2 separate regions of the Homo sapiens genome follow, and region 2 is linked to region 1. Evidence: promoter capture Hi-C in human tissues and cell types (Jung and others, 2019). All regions are on one chromosome and are shown on one strand. The core of a region is centred on a gene start or on the middle of the fragment in contact, and the rest is flanking DNA. Distances in the headings are between cores, read along the strand shown. Region 1 holds the start of SERPINE3 (serpin family E member 3). Region 2 overlaps INTS6 (integrator complex subunit 6).

The links. Contacts are between HindIII fragments. The study calls those that stand out against the background at their distance.
Region 2: a contact is called between a fragment that was not itself captured here and the fragment with the promoter of SERPINE3 in region 1, in 1 of the 25 tissues and cell types used here (aorta).

What each region holds. Positions count from the first base shown.
Region 1 is chr13:51,336,191-51,343,616 of GRCh38, forward strand. SERPINE3 (serpin family E member 3) reads left to right here and starts at 3,501. Exons shown (of 10, transcript NM_001386375.1): 1 at 3,501-3,553; 2 at 4,594-4,671; 3 at 4,885-5,157. The coding sequence starts at 4,902. It also overlaps a transcript of INTS6 not described here. The HindIII fragment of the contact is 9,065 bases long and covers 1-4,569 here.
Region 2 is chr13:51,385,799-51,393,224 of GRCh38, forward strand. It overlaps INTS6 (integrator complex subunit 6), which reads right to left. Exons shown (of 18, transcript NM_012141.3): 6 at 3,521-3,646; 7 at 1,588-1,742. Among named protein-coding and RNA genes, the nearest start is that of MIR5693, 41 kb to the left of the region's middle. The HindIII fragment of the contact is 3,610 bases long and covers 1,433-5,042 here.

The DNA.
Region 1 (7,426 bases), core at 2,251-4,750:
TAAAAACATACTTCCAGTTGGATGCGGTGGCTCACGCTTGTAATCCCAGCACTTTGGGAGACTGAGGCAGGCAGATCACTTGAGGCCAGGAGTTCGAGACCAACCTGGCCAACATGGCGAAACCCCATCTCTACTAAAAATACAAAATTAGCCAGGCATGGTGGCAGCCCTCTGTAATCCCAGCTACTCGCGAGGCTGAGGCAGGAGAATTGCTTGAACCCGGGAGGCAGAGGTTGCAGTGAGCCGAGGTCGTGCCACCGCACTCCAGCCTCGGTGACAGAGCAAAACCCTGTCTCAAAAAAAAATTAATTAAAAAAATAAAAACATATTTCTGGATACAACAGCATAGATTCATAGTCCAGCCGGTTACATGACGATTCCAAAGCCCCTTCTTATGTGAGCATGAAAGGACCTCGATGGTCCTTTCTTAAGTAAGATGAGATGAGAGATGGGGACATAGTCCAAAGAAGTTGATGCTTTCAGCCTTTCCTGCTTATCAGGCACCATGATAAGGCTGTTTGCTGTCATCTTCACAGTGAGAGGTAGGTATCATACACCCACTTTGCAGAAGAGGCAACTAAAGCTCAGAGCAATTCAGTGACTTGCCCAAAATCTGCCAGCCCACTGTGCTCTCTCCAGCACACCATTCTGAAAGGTATCAAAAAGTAGAGGGGCCCAGGTTCATTTTGAGTCTATGCACTGCATAGCTGTGAAGTACCAGAGGGCCGTGTTGCAGCTATCAGCCGGGACAGCAGGAAGCCCAGCGGCAGCGCTTTGCCGTTGCCTTCCTGGAAGGACAGGTGGAGGCTCACCTGCACCATTTCCCATGAAGTACTTGCTAATTTCATCTGGCTGTGCAGCACCATGTGCTGGGCTACCTTGCATTGCCCTCTGGCTTGCTCTAGCTGTTCCCTCAGACTTCTTTTAACAGTGCCCATGTCTTCCTCAGTGGGTGTGCTCTCTCTTCATGGCAAAATCCTCAAGGTCAGGGCTACAAATGGGACTCCTCCTGTACAACCCCAGACAGGCAGCCCATACAAGCACAAAGGAGATGCCTACCTATTAATTATGTCCTTACTGAATTGAAATGCAATGCTTCTATCCATCACATTAGTTTGGTAGACCTTTGGATTTGAAAGTGATTTGTTTATAAGAATCGGCTAGTGAAAAATGTTAAACCATAATTTTTAAAAGTGCTGGGCCTCATAGCAGTCTACCTACAGGTGATTCACCACAGCATTCCTGGTAAATGTGGGCAAAGTGAACACGCATTACGAGCAAAACAGTCTGGGCTGGCCATCGAAAGGCTTAGAATCCTACAGCCAAGAGGGATTTTAAGAGACCTCATCCCTTGGCTCCTGACAGCACCAAGACTGTGATGAAGGGCATGTGCCTTAGTGTCAAGGTGGCCCTAGGTTCAAACCCCAGCTTGGCCTGGTGGGACCTTAGGCAAGATCTTAAGCTCTTCAGACTTAGTTTCTTCATCTGCAAAATGGGAATGATAATACATTCCTCATAGGATTGCTGTGAGGATTCATTGCAATTGTGAATGGACAGGGTCTAATAGAGTAGCTGGAACACAGTAAGTGCTCAGTAATGCTCTCTATATATGTTGTTAAAATTACAAATAAATATCTCCAAGAATGGAGCCTCACTTAGCAGTATAATGAACATCCATCCCAGCAAGATAGAAATAAACATGATAATCTCTGCTTAAATGGTCAGAGACCACAGTGACTTACCCAGGTTCAAGGCTGAGTACACAGAAGAAAAATCACTTGCAGTTCATCTTTCATTCATTCACACTTTGAAATGTTTAGCCTATATAGAAAATATATCCTGTATGTTAAATTTCCCTAGCATTTTTCCCGAAGGATGCTTCTTAAAAGCAAGTTAGAATGGCATATTCATAGAGTTAGAAAGAAATGTTTGTAGAAGTTACACAAACAACCTTTTTTTAATTTGGGAAATCTTTTTATAAGCTTCTCTCCACTGCTACCACTGGCAAATAGTGAATCAGCTGTTTCCCCTGGAATTCCTGCTACAGGCAGCTCACAATGTGACAAGGCAGTCCTCACAAGTTACTGCCGCTCCATCACCATCAACATCTAAAATACGCAGGCAGTGAGCAAGACTCTAAGTCCCATAGAAGCTGAGCCCAGGTTACTGGTTCACTGCCATATGCCCAGAACCTAGCAGCACAGTGATTTGTGACCAAGCAGGTGATCAAGAGATATTTGTTGGATGGATGGATAGGTGGATGGATGGATGGATGGATGGATGGATGGATGGATGGATGCACGGACAGACGGATGGATGGACAGATGAATGGACAGATGGATTGATGGATGCATGGATGGATGGACAGATGGACAGATGGATGAATGATATGCCCTCTCTGGGTGCTATAGAATAAGTTAAACCTGTTTATTCTCCTTTCATACTATGGCTTAGAGAATACCCTGTCCATTCACAATTGCATTGAATCTAAAGTAAAGATTTGGGGATATTTTATGTGATGCAATTATAGAACTGTAACTATCCTAAGACCTGTAAACAATCCCAGGTTTGGGTGTCAGCAATAAAACTCTTTAAAGTGAATTACCCACTGATTACAGGGGTAGTTGTCAAGTGAAAACAGTCCATTGATTTTCAAATATTAACACTTACAGATGCCTGAGAGATAATTATTAAGAATTGCATTCAGTTCTTCTTTAATCTGTAACCACATATAAGCTACCATCTATTTTGAACTTAATACAAGGCCTAAGTCCTTAATAAAAATGTATGTAATTCTGAATTGATCACAAGGACAGACTTTTGACAGAACCTGCTCATATTTTTCAAAAATATGTGTCTACTCGTTGACAACATGGTCTCTTTCTCAAATTAGTCATTGGACTTACGAACTGTTGTATCTGAGAAGAACCAGATTATTAATAACTCAAGTTACATATATAAATTAGTGCATTCACTTTGATAAATAATAAATGAGGCAAGTCACCCTGCTCCGAACTGATCGTGCCATATCTTGCGTTGTTTTCTCTTTTGCAGAATTTCTTTTCATTTGCTGAAAGTTTTAAGTCATGCCCAATGACTGATTTATTGTTTTCTTCACAGGAGGAGGGGGGAAGCATTAGGTACCTGGTACCCAGCAAAAGCCCAACAAGCAAAGTTATCAGTGGAATTCCTCAATGTGACAAAGGGCTGGATGAGGGGTTCCTTGCTGGTACAACCAGGTCACAAGCCTAAGAAGGCTTGACGGGTGTGGCTGGCTCTCCCCCCACGGCCCTGCTCTGTTCCCGATCTGGGCTTTGCTGCCCTGGGCTGGGCTGCTTCTCCTGGCTCTCTGCAGGACCTCCAGGCTCCAGGAATTTGGACCGAGTGGTAGAGACATCGCCGGCAGAGACGGCAATCGCCAGCTTCCTCTCTGTGCTGTCTTGTGATTCAAAGCAGATTCTGCTCCACTTTTTTAAAAGGGGAGCACATGAATGCTGGAGACCCACAAGAACAGAGTCGAGCAAGGAAACGTGCAACAGTGATACAAAAGTCTGTGAGTACGTGGCTCATTCGAGGTGAGCCATGACAGGGATTTGTTCATGGGGAGCCCAGGGGCATCAAGGTCTGATTGCTGAGAGTGTTCTTGTGGGAGATGGGAGGTTATAAGAGCTGTGAGAACCCTGGGGCTTAAGAGTTTTGCAAATGACCCTGGGCTGGGACACACACACACACACATAGAAAGAAAGAGAGAGAGAGAGAGCCCTATGTACCAAGGTCATCCAAGCACTGCATTTGTACTTGGCTGTAGGGAGGAAGGGTTGGAAAAAAGAGAAGATGTTTTCTATCTTGGACCTTTACCTAAAATAGGCACCATCGTGCTCAGTGGCCTTGCTTGTAAACTTCTACAGGAGGGTGAGTTGGAGAGAGTGAGTGTGAGCGTGAGTAGCAGGGTGAGCTGCTCACTGGTGAGTCCAGGAAGTGACTCTGGACCTCTTCTTACATCAGTTTGGTATGATACCACAGTCAGACAACTTAACAAAAACTGCTGCTGGCTGGATGTGTGGCATGGTCGTTGAAAACATTTTTTTACTTTGCCTTTCTCTTCTTGCATTATTTTCTAGTTAATGATCTCTCTTCCTTGGAAGAGTACATTTCTGGGGTAGGAACTATCTTTGTGAAAATATTCTTTTTTAGAGACTAATTTGCATCACAAGAATTCTGATATTCGAGGTACAATTAGTTCATGTATCAATATTTTAATTCACATAGGTATTCTCAAAATTTTATATACCACTCATAGAAGACCAGGATTTGAGTCACAGCACTGTTTCTTTCCCCATACAAATGAGTCACTGGGCCTCAAAGGTTCAATCATCCTCTTTATAGATGAAATATAATAACAGATACTAGTGAGATTGTTGGGATGATTAACTGCAAATGTACAAAGTCCTTTTTAACATAGTAGATAATTATTTATTATTATTCCTGATAGACACAGCACAGCTATAAGCTGACTATATACCAAGAACAATGAGTAGGATTACCTCTTACATTTCTTTTCCCAACATAATGCTTTGCTTCTGATCTGACCAGGGCTTTGCTAAAGTCACACATCCAGTAAGTGGCCGAAGCAGATCTTCAGACCCACAGTTTGGCTGCCAAAGGACCACAGTGAGTATTTCTAATGCTGAAACAAGAGGGTGCAGCTCTGCAGCCCAGACGGCTGGGCCTCAGGGTAGGTAACCAAGACAGCTCAATGCATCTCTCCCTCAGCCGTCCCTAGCCCCTAAAAACAGAGCTGGGGGTCCCAGTCCTCTGTGGGACATGGCCCTCTTTCATCACCAGCTTCCAGCCTACCCTGCATCTCTTCCCTCTGAATTGCAGGAACCCTCCCAGCCTCCATGCCGCCTTTCCTGATCACCCTCTTCCTCTTTCACTCTTGCTGCCTCCGAGCAAATGGCCACCTCCGTGAAGGAATGACATTGCTGAAGACTGAGTTTGCACTTCACCTCTACCAGAGTGTGGCCGCGTGTAGAAATGAGACGAACTTTGTCATCTCTCCTGCTGGTGTGTCCCTCCCCCTGGAGATCCTGCAGTTTGGAGCAGAAGGGAGCACTGGTCAGCAGCTGGCAGATGCCCTGGGGTACACTGTCCATGGTAAGAGGCCTGCCCACGTGCACACTCACTTACCCTCCTGTTCACACTCACACTCTCTCCAGCTCACCCTCCTGCTCACACTCACACTCACTCTCTCCAGCTTACCCTGCTGCTCATACTCACACTCACTCTCTCCAGCTCACCCTGCTGCTCAGGCTACCTGGGAGATAGGGAGCTCAGCTCCCTATGGTGTGCACATGGGGAAGAGTGATCACTGGACAGGTCTGTGACAGAAGGCATTCAGACTTTGGGATGGTGGTGACCCTTGAATTTTAAGGTTCCCTTCTAACCTAATAGGTTTCATGGCAATGTTTCAGTTTCATTTGACACACCCTAGCATAGTGCCTTCCTAGGTGCCAGGCAGTGCTGGAGGCACTTACAAACATTAATTGAATTAATTGTCACAACAGCTCTGTTGAGGATGATAATTTTATTATCATCCCAATTTCAGAGATGAGCAAATAGGCATGGAGAGTTGAAGCAACTTGCTCAAGTTCACAGAGCCAATAAGTGACAGAGTTGGGACTCAAGCCCAGGCTGCCTGGTTTAAGAGCCCATGCTTTTGACCAACCTGCTTTTATAAATCTGTGACTTCTAGCCAGTGCCAGATCTGCCAGCTTATTTCTATGGATTATGTATTTTAGAGCGGCTTTGCCGGCAGCAGCATGAGTCTTTCGAATGCCAGGTCAGCTTCCCCTCTGCTTACGCTCAGTGCCTCAGCTCAATGCCTGGCCTCAGAACCAATCTACCAACTCCAGCTAAAACAGATACTCACACACATTAACATTTTTCTTCCTAGACTAGGATCTAGGAATTCAGCAAAGACAGAACAAAAAAAAAAAAAAAAAAAAAAGAGGCTATGAGCTCTGCGGCCTCACGTTCATTCAAAGTGGAATGAAGCTGTCCTAGGCAGGGTCATCCCGGCCTACCCATTCTTCACCCTGTGGGTGAGCAGGGCAGTAAAGCCCCACCACCTATACCTGGGTGACACTGAGCACCTTTGTTAATCTGTCTGGGCCTCTGCTCGCTCATATATAAAATGGGGATAATAATAGCCCTCAATTCACAGGACTGTCAAAAGCATTCAGTGTGATCAGGAGTGTTGAGTGTTTAGCACAATGTCTATGAACACAGTCAACCTCCGGCATTTTTTACCCTGTCATTGCATATTCTGGCAGGTCTAAAAATGTTCTTCCTGTGTGCAAATGTGCATGGACAAACTAGGCTAGGGCAGAGAAAAGATTTCACACAAAAATTCACTTCAAGCCAACTTACTCTACTATTTTAATGTTTCTGACTAAAAGAATGTGGGTCCCCTGGCCCAGAGAGGGTGGAAAGATGGAGAGGAGAGTTCTGTGACCATTCCTCAGGTCACACCACACTATGGACAAGGGAAGTGTTTCAATTCTTCTCTGCAGACAGTCAACATTCCTAGGAATGTGATCTCAGAAATACATGTGACCTTCCTCGATAGAGTAAAATCTGATTATAAGTATGTTTTTATCCATTTTTTTCTTACTACACTCAAATGCAAGCACTTAAGTTAGGCTGATTCATGAGATCAAGATTCTGAGTCAGTCTTTTGCAATTGTGGATTCTCAGGAGCAGCTTCGGTAGTGAACATATTGTGGACAAGTGATGTCTGCCTACTATTGTCCTCTGCAGCCTCGTTTGGCTGGGGACCCTGGCCAGGGTGGACTCTGGGTTCCCGTGCCTCCAGAGAACATTAGCCAGGAAACTCAGGGGTCTGCTGCTGCCTCCTGGCTTGGCTTCTGCAACATGAAGGGTGTCAGAGGGGACAGACCCCAAGTGAGTGAGAGTTTCATCCCAGTGAAAACCAGCCGGAGCCAGGTAGTGGAGGAAAAGATACCCAGCATTTTGTCTTACAGGGAGGGTTTGTAGATAACTGCAGGGCTGTGCCTAAAAGGGAGTAGAAGCAGCCTAAGCAAGGGGGCTTCACTTCTGGAAACACTCAGCTTGCATGTGTCAGGAATGAGAAGCTTGGGGTACGCCACTGTGTCTGGACTCACCAGTGGGCAAGAGCCCTCGTTCCAGCTATGGGATGCCTGGGGGAGGACAGAAGCTGCAGCTTGTGAATAATAACATGAAAACAAAATCCACTATTGATCATGGAAAGAAGGAAGCAATCTCCTGTATAAACAGTAAATAAATAGAAGTCCAGCTGCCATCCACGAAGGTGGAAGCTATCGACTCCCTCAAATGCTTATTATTTCCTTGACATTCTTGCAGCCTTTCACTGACATTAATA
Region 2 (7,426 bases), core at 1,988-4,487, 49 kb after region 1:
TCATAATTCAACCACTTAAAATCTCTTACGTGAACCATATCAATAGCCCTCATAGGTAACCTACCTGCCTTTCAACTCATCTCCCCTTCTAATTTTACTGCATATAACCACCACCAAATCAATTTTTCTAAAGATGTCTGTTAAAAACATCTTCGACTGCTCTTTGAACTCCACTGTTTAAAAGCTAATATTCCTTAACCCTGCATTTAAAGTCATAAGCAATTTGGTTAGTTTAATAGTACTCTCAATGTCCTATATACATGTTATGATCCACCCGTACTCAGCTACTTGTTACTCCTCTAAACATACCTTGTTCTTTTTCACTTCCATATTTTTTTTCTCATACTATTTCCTTCTCCAATTGAAGTCCTACCTACCCTCTATGGCTTCTAAGAATTTGTGATAGACTGCTAGAGCAGCATTAATAGATAAGGGTTCTGATACTGGTTTTGGATTTCTTTCCATTACAACTCAGGTACTGTATGTTCTCCTGTACATGTTAAATAAATAGAATAAATAACCAACATGACAATATTTCATACAAATACGGTATCTGTTCTGTAAGAGTTGAAAGAGCTCCAGAAAAGAAAGTAAAATGACCAAAGAAATTGGAAGTTTCTCCATAAAGCCAGACTAAAAAACTATGATGGTTCTATCAGAAAAAAAGAAAAGGTATAATGAAGATACTTCAATGAAATTTAGAAAACCTTAACTTCATGCACTACTTTATTAAATCCCTAATGAATAAAGGAAATATCACTTTATAAACTCAAAATAAAAATTATCCTGAAAAGCTGATACAGGTTTGAAGTACAAAAGGTTTCAAAAAGGTTTTGTTGTATCAAACATTATTAGACTGCTTAATGATCTCTGAAATACAATTCTTATTTTCTAAAGGTAAAATCAAGGAGAACCACTGCCATGCTCTCCCACAAAATATCCCTTAATGCCCTCAGATACTTAGAAAAAAAATATGGAAAAAAAGAGTACACTAACACGACTAAATGGATATTAATTTGTATAAATGTACCCTATTATTTTAAGAATTATATAATGAATACTGATAATTCACCATGATCGCTCAGCAAACTTCATTTTTCCTAAAAATAATTCAGGTAAACAAAATCAGAAAATCTGTTCTAGCTTAAACCTCCAATCTGCAACACTGTATATAACTAAAACCATACATATCAATATGAATTTAAGACTAAGTCCTAAAAAATTGCAGGCAAACTATCAAAATTATTTTCTAAGCCTTCATTTAAATCCTAAATTGTGTCCCAGAGACAAATCCTCATTTAGAGTCTAAAGAGGAAATTTTGAACCCAGAAGCCAAGAATAAAAATCGCAAGCATAGTATTAGATTCTAAACGAAGGAGATGCCTTTTTTCTATTACTTCATAATAAACAAAGTAACAGGGTTATCATAGCAAAGCAACATAATAAAGCAAGTAACAGGGTATCATAGCACTTTGAACATCTGTCTAATCCCCATAAATTAATCACAGCTTTGACAACAGAATTTGAAACTAATAGGAAAGACAGCTGAATGGTTACTATTACATAGTTACAGTCTCTGGTACTTACTAGTGTTGGCGAATTTTGATCTGGCCAAAAAGACTCTGGAACAGGCCAATGACCTATAGGAACCCCAGTTTTAGGATTTGGTCTGACATATATGAGTTTGTGACAGCTATGCCAAGGCTGAGATCCAAAAGGCCTTGATATATCTGGCTGCCCATCTATAGCAAAGAAATTAAGACAAAGAAAGCATATATCATAAGGGGGGATAAGCATAAAAAGTTAAATTATATCAATTATTACTTAAATTAATAAAAAATTCCTAATATCTTTTTCCAGGTTTTCCTATTTTTCTTAAATGGCAGAACACTATGTCTGCTGAATATTTAGACTAGATTGTAATTCATTAGACAATAAGTACAAATTCCAACTATGAGTTCGCCAGTTCAAAGGAGGTCCGCAGCATCCTTTGCCTTCCCAACTGGAACACACAAAACATACTTTACGGTGAATATCTGTTTGATGAATGGCATGTTTTCTTCATCAGATGATAAGAGCAAGCACCCAATTTGCCACCTTTATCATCATATCCCAAATGTCAAAAACAGTGCCAGGCACACAATAAATACTAGAATAAATAAGTACTGCAAATTGAGTATTTCTTAGAAATCATTTTAACCGAAGCCTAAAAAAAGAACTTAATAAGCAAATCTAGACCAAAGCACCTACCTTTAATCTAAAATAATTTTAGCAAAACAGCAACTATCTTCAACAATCCAGTAAACATTTACTAGTAACAAACTCTAAACAAAGCATTAAAATAATTTAAAATAAATACACTGTAACAATTAAAATTTTTTTAAGTTTGGTTTCGTTAAAGCAGACATGACACAACTTATTGTTATCACCCATTCCTTCCCTATAGTACCCTCTCAGTGCCCCCATTCTTTCATCTCTATGATCTTTCTCTTCTCCCAGGTACCTACTTTAGTGGACCACCTCTGCCAATTATCATTAAATGATTCTCTAAATCTTTGTGTGTGTGTGTGTTTTGTTTTTTTTTGTTTTTGTTTTTGTTTTTCTTTTTTTTTGAGATGGAGTTTCACTCTTGTTGCCCAGGCTGGAGTGCAATGGTGTGATCTCCACTCACCGCAACCTCCACCTCCCGGGTTCAAGCAGTTCTCCTGCCTCAGCCTCCCGAGTAGCTGGGATCATAGGCATGCGCCACCACGCCTGGCTCATTTTGTATTTTTAGTAGACACGGAGTTTCTCCGTGTTGGTCAGGCTGGTCTCAAACTCCCAACCTCAGGTGATCCACCCACCTTGGCCTCCCAAAGTGCTAGGATTAGAGGTGTGAGCCACCGTGCCCAGCAATGACTCTTAAATCTTGAAATAGGTAACATACAATGCAGAGGGTCTCAACTATAAACCATCCATTGGTTCTACTATAACTCCTTATATCCACTGGCTATTGGAAATAGTTCATGATTACAGAAGCCAAGAAAAAGCCAGGTGGGACTCAGCTAGAGTTAGAAGAATCAAGCTTAATGGCAAAGCCTGGTTCCTCATTTTTGACCCACAATAAACCATTTACTTTCAATCAGTTTGATCCCTGGTACAAAAGTAGCTAAGGAGTTAAACATCTAGGACTGAACACTTTGGGAATTAAAGGGCATAGGAGAAGCATATATATGTTGAGAGGCAATTGTATAATACTACAAAGAAATTATAAAGTTGCTTATCGATAAATCTTTGAAAAGGCTTTTGACTCATCAAAATGTCAGGCAATAGACAATCATTAATACAAAAAGGTGATGCTACTAGACTACTATTAGTTTACCTTGACTTTCCTATTTAATCTTCCCTCTTTACCAACAGCCTTTCTGTCTTAATAATTTGGCCTTGCCTATCTTAAGGCCAAATCACAGTAAGTTTTCAGTTCTAGTTGAATAAACAATAAAGCAAGTTTTGAATGTCTAAAAGAAAAGTGCAATAATACCTTCTACAGGGGAAGGATCTGGTCCTGCTTTTTCAAAGTTTATTACCACCCCACTTTGTACTTTCTGCACCAAGGACTCCAGACACTGATTAAGCATTCTTGGAGAACACACAGAATATGAACGGCCTGAGATTAAAAAAAAGAAGAAGAAGAAGAAGAAGAATATAGTAAACTAGTTAGTTGCAAGAATTCCTATCATTAGCAAGAAAAAAACAACTGTGGGGTTTCTGACAGTACTAATTAACAAAAGTTCAATGGTAAAAGTTGACTAATTTCATTATCTTATGAAAGAATGCACAAAAATCATTATTTCCAACCAACCAACAATCCCATTTTGTGAGAGTATGTACATTTTTTCTTCTAATTACAGGTATTTGGAACATAGAATTCTTGGTCTGAACAAAACACATGAAAACAAGTCACATATTTTATGTTTTTTAAAACATATATATAAAAAACACTATCTCCAACTGTTATGCAATACAATTTATCTTTAACACATATACACACACACATCTAGTAACTGTCTCCCCAAAATCTTATTCCTGCTTAACAAAAGTATTATCACTAAGATTTACTGTGCACATAGTAGGTATGTAATAACTACTTGTTTACTGGCAGTTTTTAAGTATTTTAAATATTTGCATTTTAATATACAGATGGTAGCGTGTGCTTTTCTGAATTTCACTTAGCTTATGTAAACACTTGGGAATTACCTGTCTCACGTGAATTCCCCTTTTGTACGTTTTAACTTATACTACTTTTGGTTCAGAAGCATTAAATACTAGTGATTTTTTTAAAAAGATACCAGTGAAAAGATCTTTTAAAGAGGAATTTTCAACAAAAATATCTAGACCTTTGCTATACAATACTTTATATACTAGACACATGTAGCTATTGAGAACTTGAAATATAGCTAGTCTGAATTGAAATGTATAGTAAGTAAAATATACACCTGATTTTGTTGACTTAGTATGAAAAAATATAAAACATCTCATTAGTAATTTTAAAATATCAATCTCACACTGAAGTAATAAGGATATATTGATTTAAATAAAATATATTATTAAAATTAATTTCATCTATTTTTAATTTTTAAAGTGGCTACTATGAAATTTTTTATTACATATGAAATTTGAATCAGATTTCTATTATACAGTTCTGATCCAGACCAACACTAAAAACCTTGACAGCTAAAACTCAATCTTTGGCCAAATATTTTGCAACATTATTTGTAATAAGCTCAATATGATGCCCTACTCTTTTACACATTCAACCAATTATTTCACAACACAAGCTACATCATTACATTTGACACATCAAATTACTTATATCAACTTACACTTAACGTGATTTGTTAAAGGCTACTCAGAAAAGAGAACATTATAGACAATGGTGATTCAAATCCTCAAAGTCAGCTTTACTTAGAAAAAATAAATACAACAACTTAACTGTATAAAATAATGATGATTATAACCTTAACAAATATCTACCAATTACTGAGTATCTACGTGCCTGGCACTGTTCCAATCATTTTATGATTATTAATTTCTTTAATCTCAGCAACAATTGTATGGGTTATTTTCCCCATTTTACAAATGAGAACACTAAGGCACAGAGAGGCTAACTAACTTTTCCAAGTTAGTATAGTGATAGAGTTACAATTCAAACCCTTACAGTGTATCAGAAACTATTCTGGATATCCTTTGTCCCTTGGAAATCCTCTGTGAATTTGAAATCAGTACTTAAAATACAGCATCTATATGAAGTCATGCTTACTTGAAAGAATTGGTAAATTCAAATTTTTTTCTAAGTCAATTTAAGTATATACAAAAAGCAATCCATAAAAAGGCTAACCATCTTTACATGCAAAATATTAGAAGTTTACATAAAGGTTGAGTATCTTATTTCATGAAATTTAAGCATATTCCTAAGATGTCATTAAAAAGCAAAAATTTTAAAGTATATAAACTATGACAATTATCTTGCTCTCCTAAGTTGTGTCATCAATTAAGAAAACATAAGCAAATCAATCTTAACACGAAATAAAATTACTAATCAGTATATTTTACAAAAATTGGAGAAAAAGAATAAAATGAGTCATTTGGTAATAAAAATCTATTAATTATTTTAAAAGTTAAACAGAAATAGCAAATTTTGCTTTCTTTACAAAGTGAGCCTATATCCTCCGTAATGTTCCTCATGTGTACTTATTGTCTATGTCAAAACTTACTCCTTGGGATATACAACACTTTGTGCTAATGCATAAAGTTTCTAGGATCACTACTTGTATTTGTGAAAAAAGTTTTATTAGCACACACCTTCAAGTCAAGAAGCTGTCTCACTTTGGGTTATGTAGAGTCCACAAAAAAGTCAAACTAAATATAGTGAGTCTAAAGGCAGTATTAGCATCTTTGTCAAATAGAGAAGAAGCAAATGAACATTTCTAAGTTGGTCAATAGTCCTTACAGAGGCTAAGAAAGTTAAATGTATTTAATCTAGAAATATCTATAATTTTTATAAAATACTTAAAAAATTCTTGATATATTTAACAACATGTCTATTACACATTTTAAAATTTGCTATCATCCTTGCACCTCCCCTAAACCTGCTTCTCCCCAGTGTACCATCTCAGTCCTTGGCACAGCCATCCATCTCTAGTGGTTCGGACCAACTGAATCATCTGGGAACCATCCTGGATTGCTTCTTCCCTTATTGTCCTCATCCTTGGTTCTCTTTTGCATTAAGCCACCTCTCAGGACCTCCAAAGCTAGCATAGAACAAAGTACTACTACTAGTCTTCCTGCTTTCATTCTTGCCACTCTATATTCTCATCTAACAGGTGAAGTGGTATTTCAGAAATAGAAATCAGACGTCACCTCCCGTAAAAAGCCTTCAAAAGGCTTCACATCATACTTGGAATATAAAAATATATTTATTGTAGCCTAAAGAGCCATTCAATATTTGGCCTCTGCCTACCCTCTAAACCTAGCTATTACTCTATTCCCCGCTATGTAAGCTCCAGCCATGCCAGCCTTCCTGTTGCTTCCAAACATATAGAGAGCATGTCCCTTTCCTTGCCATTTCCTCAAAAAATATTTATTGTAGCCTAAAGAGCCATTCAATATTTGGCCCCTGCCTACCTCTCTAAACCTAGCTATTACTCTATTCCTCCCTATGTAAGCTCCAGCCATGCTAGCCTTCCTGTTGCTTCCAAATATATAGAGAGCATGTCCCTTTCCTTGCCATTTCCTCTGCCTAGATATTTGTGTAATTAACTCCATTATTCAGGTCTCTGCTTAAATGTTACCTCCTCAGACGAAAACTTAGGTAGAATATGCTTTCTCTGCCTTAAGTTAGTCTCCACTCCCTTACTCTGTTTTGTCTTCATAGTAGGTAGCACCCTACTATCTACTACAATAGTAGTAGGTAGTACTACTATAAAATATCATTTATTTATTTTCCATGATTATTATCTGTCACTCAGTACAAAGACATAAGCTTTCTATTGTTCCTGCTGTACTCCCAACACCCAGTAACAGTTATTTGGCATAGAGTGGGCACTCATTAATTACCTGATATCAAAAGAAAAATGCTTACAATGACTACAATTATGCAATTAAAAAAATACATAGAAAGAAATATATTATTATTTTGGCAATACAGATGAATTTTTTCCAACATTTCCTTAGTGAACATGAATTACTCCATAATGGGAAAAATAAATGTACACAAATACACACATAAACAACTAAATTTTTTTTTTTTTTTTTTTGTGAGACAGAGTCTCTCTCTGTCAGCCAGGCTGGAGTGCAGTGGTACGATCTCAGCTCACTGCAACTTCCACCTCCTGCGCTCAAGCAATTCTCCTGCCTCAGCCTCCCGAACAGCTGGGATTACAGGCGT